Regions from separate parts of the Homo sapiens genome. Here region 2 is linked to region 1. Evidence: promoter capture Hi-C in 16 types of primary human blood cells and fetal thymus (Javierre and others, 2016). All regions are on one chromosome and are shown on one strand. The core of a region is centred on a gene start or on the middle of the fragment in contact, and the rest is flanking DNA. Distances in the headings are between cores, read along the strand shown.

Region 1 (5,092 bases), core at 1,120-3,619:
TTATAATAACTTTATGAAGATATTAGTACCATTATTATCTCCATTTTACAAATGAGCCATGGCATCCAGCCTCCCATTTTAGATCTAATGAAACATAATACTCCAACGTAGACAGTGTCCACACCCACTACTTAGAAAATGCTGGCCAAGGAGGGTATGGCTAAGTTAACTTGGTCATCAGCATAAACCAGGTCTAGCACGTCAATGTTGTGGTTTTCCTTTCAAAATCTAAAAATGGTTTGAAATACAGAGCTTTAGAGGTGAAAAAGACCTTCAAAAGAATTTAGAGCAATGGTTTTTGAACTTTTTTTCCTTTAGAATCCCTTCCCCCAATTTTCTCCAGAATCCCAATATGTAAAACAAATGTAAACAGAGCTAGTCAGGAGCCCTGTCTGCCTGGCCTCCTCCTTGCCCAAAGCTGATTCCTGAGGCACCTCCAGCACTCCAGAGAATAGCCTGAAAGCCTCTAACTTAGTCCAACGATCTCATCTGACAGATGAAAAAACTGGACCCATGAATGTTTTATACTGTTTTGATTTAAAACAAATTCGCACAGGAACTGATCACGGGTCTCAGATCTCAAGTTTTCTCCCTCTCCTTAGGCCAGTGATCATTAAACTACACTAAAATGTCTCTTCTTTCTCTGGCCAATGTCTCCAGTTTTGGAACAGGACAAACTAAGAATAATCCAGACTACACACAAGTTTCCATAACTGTCCTTTCTAAAATACTGTATTTTTAAAGAGGAAAATATACAATGGTTTTCGTGTAACTTGGCATGATTTAAAGATATATTCACTTTAAGACACCTTTACATTAGAATCTAGAATTTTAAAATGGAGAAGCCTCTAACTGCAGATGTGAAAAATCAACTGTCATAGAATAAGCTTTCAGCTAACCAAAGCAAAGGAGGGCTGTAGGAGACACCTGATTCACACTTGAATCCCACCCCAGTGTCCAGGTATACCTGTTACAGCATTTTGTTTGGAGCCAGGTTTTGCATGGATGGCTATGGTGACGCATCCTTTAGGATCAACTGCCACAGGACCTAAGGGAGGAAGTGGTCTCTCTGGTTCCTTGCTCTGGCTTTTACCCTAAAATGACAACCACACAACTTTACAGGTTACAAAATATTTTCCCACACATTTAATTTGATTCTTCCACTACCCCCTTTCACCCTTAACAGACAAACTAGGCTCATCAGTGGTGTCCAGGGACTTCTGGCCACCTAGAAAGCTTTTCCCACAACCTTCAAGGCTCTACTCAATTTTCCCACGAAGGGTTCCCATCAACCCAACAGTGTTTTTTCCCCCCTTGCAAGAAAACCTAACTCTGGCTTCTAAACCTTAATGCTTGCTCCTCCCTCTGCTTTGTATTTCCAATTCCTTGGGGGCAGGGATCATTTATTATTCATCATTGTATCTCATGCAGTCGGAGCTAATAAATGTTGGTGAAAGTGTGTATGTCTGCATGTTGCGGGAAAGGGAGGAAAAAAAAATAGTGCTTGATATTTAAAGGCCTGTTATGGGACAGGGGCTGTGCTAGGAACTTTCGTTCAACAAATATGTAGGCAATGGATATGTAAAGATGAAAAGGTACATGGTCCTTGCTCTCAAGGAGCTCGGACTGCTGCGAGGGAGAAAGAACATACAAAATTATAATACACTGTGCTAAGTGCACCGATGAGATAGGCACAGAACATTACCCCACAGGCAAATCAGCATTGGGGCACTGGAGAATGCTGCCAGCAGGAGGCAGTGCTTGAGCTGAGTCTGAGAAACGGACTGGGGTTGGCCAAACAAAGATGGTGGAAATGGGAGTGCTGTATTCTTGACAGAAGGGGTGCGATCAGCCAAAGCAAGGGAGGAGAAAGCAGAATACAGCCTCCTGGGGAAACGCAGGTCATGCCGCTGCGGGAACATGAATTGCTGGACTGGGAGTGCGGGTAGGAGGCCAAAGGTCAGCACACGCAGCCCAAGGAGAGCTCGGCTGCCGCCGGGCCCAGCGCTCAGAAATCACCAGGTGGACGGCAGCGCAGCCTACTGAGGCGGGGCGACGGCAGCAGGCCGCAGCTCTGGGGGTGGCGGCGGCTGTCCTGAGCCCCGGAACTGAGAGACGGCAAGCCGCTGGCAGTGCCTCCACTCACTCCCGGGCCCCGCTTCTCCCGCGCTCTTCAACAAGTACCCCTGAGGCCCACCCCTCTGCCGCCACGGGACCTGCTACTGGCCTTGGTCGTCGCACCAGCCTTCTTAGGCATCTCGGCGCAAAGAAGCCGAGCGGAGCCCCGAGTATTGGGTGTTGCCCGAAGGTGCCTCAGCCCGCTGCGGAGCCGCAGCATCCCCGCCTGGGAAGGCGCCGGAAGAGCCCTCTGCGCTTGCGCAGGTAGCCGGCAGGAGCGGCCCCACCGCCCGGCGCATCCGCTCTGGCCAGAGGGCGACACCTTAAGGCCGGCGGGAGCGAGTCTCGTGGCCGCAGAACATGCGCGAGTCTCTTTTGTTCTGGAACGGGCCGAGCCCCAGGAAGTGGAGCTGCGGAGCTGAGGCCTCACCGTGTCTTGGCCCACCCTGCTCAGCTGATAGGAAGGTGTGTCACCTCTTTCCTAATCGGGGAAAGAAAGGTATTGTCACTTCTCAGAATTGGAGAGCGCGGCAAGGAGTGCACAGGGCCAGGTGTCTTCTCGCTCCCACAGCCAAGCAGCAGATGCAGAGTCCCACGCGCTGCCTGTGGCCATCAAGTCGATATAGAGCCTCGTGGCGGCTTGGCCCTTGTGAATCTTCCACGTATCGATGGCGCACCTACCTTGTGCCAGGCGCAGCGGATCCCACAATGTAAAAGAAGAGGAAATACACTGCGACATGTGATATGGAGAGACATGAAACAAATCAGCAGAGGCAAGATCATGGAGTCACTGAAGGCTTTCAAGCAAGGGATTATTAGCAGCCCAATTTGCTGGGTTTTAGAAAGACACCGGCTGCACTGTGGCCGACAGAGGAAAAGCCAGAGACAGGGAGATCCGCCCCCTAAATGGGAGAGGGTGGCCTGAACTAGAGTAACCGCAGGGAGGGTGGAGCGCTGATCATTTCAAGGATCTTCAGGAACTGAAATGATCAGAACTTGGGAATGACTGCATGTGCGAATAAGGGGGAAAAGTCAAGGAAATGCCCAGGTTTGGGGCCCAAGGAACAGGTTTGGGAGGCCGAGGTGAGGAGTTCAGCTTTGGACATAATGAGTTTGAGATGCCCACAGGACATCCAAATACAAATGTTAAAGGGGTAACTGAATATATGTGACTGGAGTTTGCGAAATCAAGGCTGGTGATAGAGATTCTGGAATCTTCTGAAAGCAGATGGCAATTGAAGCTATGGAAATGGATGAGAGAGTGTGTAAAGAGCACGAGGGCCCAGGTTAGAACAGCAAGGGCAGGTAGAGAAGTCACCAAAGGACACTGACCAGGTAGGAGTACGGTGTAACGGCAGCTAAAGAAGGGCGCTTCAAGAGGGAACATCAACAGTGATGAACACTCTGGAGAGAACATGTCACATGTAACGACTGAGAAGTGGCCACAAGATTTAGAAATCAGGGTGGTGGTGGTGACCCGGGCTACAGCAGTTTTAGTGGAGAGAAGGAAATGGAGATAATTGTAGAGAATAATCCAGTGACTTCACTGTGAAGGAGCAATTGGTATCTGGAGGGGCACATGACATTCAGAGACTTATTTTTATCATATTTGAAGATTGGTAGGAAAGAGCCAGGAGAAGAGAGGTTACAGCAGAGGACGGTTCCTGAAGAGGTAGGATCTGAGCTCAAGTAGAGATTGAGTTCTCTACAGGAGGCCTTAGACACTCCTTCCTTCCTAAGGGAAAGCTTAGGTGGACATGTAGCTGTGTTTGTAGGTTTGGTGATGGGAGGTGGAATTTCTTTCATTAACTAAGGCGGGGGAGGTGTTGAAGGTATATTGGGACTCTTGAGAATGGCAAAGGGCTGACTATTGCAACTCACCCAGCGGTAGACAGTTAAGGGAGACCGTGAAATCATCTATGATCCCAATCTATAGTTACCTTATTTTATTTTTGTTTATTTTTGAGACAGGGGGATGGGAAGAGCCTGTCGCCCAGGCTGGAGTGCAGTGGCGGGATCTCGGCTCACTGCAACCTCCGCCTCCTAGGTTCAAGCAATTCTCCCTGCCTCAGCCTCCAGAGTAGCTGGGACTACAGGCGCGCGCCACCACACCCATTTTTTGTATTTTTAGTAGAGACGGGCGTTTCGCCATTTCGCCCAGGCTGGTCTCGAACTCCTGAGCTCAGGCAATCCACCCACTTCGGCCTCCCAAAGTGCTAGGATTACAGGCGTGAGCTAGCGCCTGGCCTATAGTTACGTTACTTTAGATGCCTGGATTCACCAGCTAAGAAGTTTTTTTTTTAATTAAATTTTTTTTTGGCCCCAGTGCTACTACCAAAGCAGTCAGGAAGTTGAAGATAAGGCAGACAACTGGATTGATTCAGGTATATTTAAGTGGGTTGAGGGTTATTGATGAAATGGTTAAAGTTATTAAAGACCAAAGGTGGAGAGGGGTTGAGGGAGACCAAAAGTAGAGTCTAACTGGGTAAAGAAGGAAGTAAAGAAGAAAAGAACAGAGAGGACAAGGGGCTGCAGTCTTAGGTTCAATAACGGGTGTAACTGGAATGTGAGTGAGAGCTGGAAGAAACACCAAAGGTTGTGGCCAGAGAGTGGGATGTCTGAATTTCCTATTTCAGATGTAGAGCAATTCCACATCATGATAGGGTATATGGTGTGGCCATGATAAGGAATGGTGAAGGTTGCTGGAGGTAAAGAAGAAACTGGAAACCTAGGTGTAGCTGGGTTGTCCACATGGCCACTGAGGCCATGCAGTATAAAGGCTTGAGCAGAAGAAAGTGAGCCAGGTGTTAAACCAAAACCATATTTCCCTTCTTTGAAATCAGTTAAGAATTGAGGCACAAAAGCTGAACCAGCATTATATAGCAGTCATTTGTAGAATCTGCTTTGGGTGAAGTCACGTCAGCCTCAATTAGAGGTTTGGCAGTTGTCATGGAAATAAAGGGGACGTCTGTGA
Region 2 (2,500 bases), core at 1-2,500, about 28 Mb before region 1:
AGGTGGATGGCTTATGTGTCAGGCAAAGCTTTATGGTTTCAAGTTTCTCTTTTAATTTAGTCCCCTAAATGCTAACATGCTAACAAATGATCCCCCATACCTTGGACTCAAAGTTCTTCAAACCTTTCTTATTCCACTAATTCAACATTTATTAAGCCCTCATTAAGAATGTATTTTCCCTGTTTGCAAAGTATGTGCAAATATAGAGAATTAGCATTAATTCTACCCTTAACCCATTTATGCCTAAGAAGAGTAAAAGGTGAAGTTTCTATTAATAACAGTCTCAGAAACTAAGAGAATAAAGGCAGAAAGACTAGTTAAAGCCTGGGAAACATAGCAAGCCTCTGTCTCTACACACACACACACACACACACACACACACACACAATGTTAATCTCCCCGTCTCTACAAAAAATTTTTTTGATATTGGGCATGGTGGTGCACACCTGTAGTCCCAGCTACTCAGCATGCTGAGGAGGGAGGACTGCTTAAGTACAGGAGACTGAGGCTGCAGAGAGCCATGATCACACATCTGCACTCCAGCCTGGGCAATAGACAGTGAGACCCTGTCTCAAAAAAAAAAAAAAAAAAAAAGGCTAGATAAGAGGCTATAAAAGTGGTAAGAGCCTAATCTGAACTAGGACAGGAAAGTAGAAAGAAGGCAAAGACACCACTATCTTTGCAGAGGCAGGATAGGTAAGACTTGATAACTAGATACAAAAGGTGAAAAGATTCAGACGACTCTCATGTTTCTAGCAAAACTATCCGGGCACTTAAGAGTGGTATTAATTCACAGAGCAAAAAGATCTGAGGTACTAAGGAATTCTCTTTCAGTAGGCCCACTGTACCTACTGTTAGGTACATCCAATGGAAAATTCAGATTTGGAGCTCAGGAGATTTAGGTTTGGAAATCAAGCATAAAAAAAGATGAGATACTTGTTCTTTGTTAGTGCTTCAGGCCCTCTATCTTTTATTTCCTCCAACAACTCTCTTCTGGATCCACTGGTGACTCCCAACCAACTCAACACTGTCCTTATTCTTCATCAACTTAACTTCCACTGTGTCTACCAAATCAATACCCAGGTCTTGACAGTTCTCACGATCTGTTGTTCTAATTCCAATATCCAGCCGACAAGCATCCTGGACGAAAATCACAAAATCGTAACGACATCATGTATAAAACCATACTGCCTACTCTGAATTAGACCCCAACCTGGCAATCTTTTGGTTCATTTTTATAAACTTCTTATCATGTTCCTGAGAGCAAGTATTCAAAATCTTCTAGGTTCTTTTACGTTATCAAACATGGCTTTGGTCCGTCACTTTCAGCTGAATCCCTTGGATCTAATTAATGAGGTCAATATCTTTGATCTGTTACAGAGATATAAGGTGAAGAAGTCAGACTTGTAATTATTTAGCACGTCAAATTCACCTTAATATACAGATTCTTAGACCCTCTTCCCCTCCCCCAAAGATTCCAACTCAATAGATCTGGTGAAAACCAGGAATCTGTAAACGCCCAGTAATTCAGAAGCAAACGTAAGAGATCAAATTCTGAGAAACAATGTGTTTCTCTGAGAAAGAGAGGAACGGGATTCATTCTGTAATGACAGGACAAATTCATGTACCATTCAAAACGTCTTTCACAACTAGGACTCATATTTATTATTTACGTTTACAGACTTATTATACTTGTAGCCCTACGCCCAAGGCTCTATCATCATTTACAATCCAGTCACTTCCTCAAACAAATGTATTTGCTCCGTTCTCTGCCTTTTCTCAAAATGTTCACTTTCCTTCCACTTAGAAGGCCCCCTCCGCTTTCTTCCGCAAAATTCAGGATCCAAGATAAATATCACCTCTATGCTGAGTCTTTCCGTACAGGACCCTCCCCAACTCACCTGCAGTAACTTAATACATAACTCTACCATTAAGCAATACGGAACACTTCCATCAACCTCTACACTTTAGTATGGACCTTAGTGTAATGCCTGACAGGGTATACACTCAACAAAGTTTACTGGATTCAAGAATTTGGCCCAAGTACATGAGTGGCCAAACAGCCCTCACAGACATCCAAGATTCCTGGTAGGCGCTAGCTGGGATCGCTCCTGAAGTTCCTCGCTGCCAACGCCACCCAAGGGTGGCGTGGTGGCCAGCGCCGCTCGGAAGACGGGCAAGGAGAAACCCCCGAAGCGGAACGTTGAGAACGGAGGCCCAGTTAAGCCACCCTCCCAGGGGAACAACGGGAGGAACCCGGGCCAAACACGGCAGACGCAGAAGCACCCAGCACCGAGCCGCCGCGCCCAGGAACCGCGGGAGCTAGGCTGAAGCAAGAACTGGTGTCGACCGCCTTACCTTGCAATCGTTGCGGACGAACATCATGCCGTGTCCAGGATAGATGGGCCCCGAACAGAAATAACACTTTTCGATACGCATGTTGAACCCGCGTGTAACCCCACCAAACAAACGCCAAGCTTGAGAGGAAGTGATGCAACCC

What was found. Contacts are between HindIII fragments. The CHiCAGO score rates a contact against its expected background, and 5 or more counts as called.
Region 2: a contact is called between a fragment that was not itself captured here and the fragment with the promoter of C15orf40 in region 1, in 1 of 17 cell types (non-activated CD4 T cells). The highest score is 6.1, in non-activated CD4 T cells.

Annotation. Positions count from the first base shown.
Region 1 is chr15:83,009,270-83,014,361 of GRCh38, forward strand. C15orf40 (chromosome 15 open reading frame 40) reads right to left here and starts at 2,370. Exons shown (of 4, transcript NM_144597.3): 1 at 2,228-2,370; 2 at 968-1,094. The coding sequence starts at 2,338. It overlaps LOC124903542 (a long non-coding RNA gene), which reads left to right and starts at 2,472. Exons shown (of 2, transcript XR_007064742.1): 1 at 2,472-3,790. RefSeq lists an enhancer at 2,548-2,607. The HindIII fragment of the contact is 2,628 bases long and covers 1,235-3,862 here.
Region 2 is chr15:55,194,452-55,196,951 of GRCh38, forward strand. RSL24D1 (ribosomal L24 domain containing 1) reads right to left here and starts at 2,490. Exons shown (of 6, transcript NM_016304.3): 1 at 2,359-2,490. The coding sequence starts at 2,439. RefSeq lists enhancers at 1,610-2,500, 2,295-2,454. The HindIII fragment of the contact is 2,449 bases long and covers 27-2,475 here.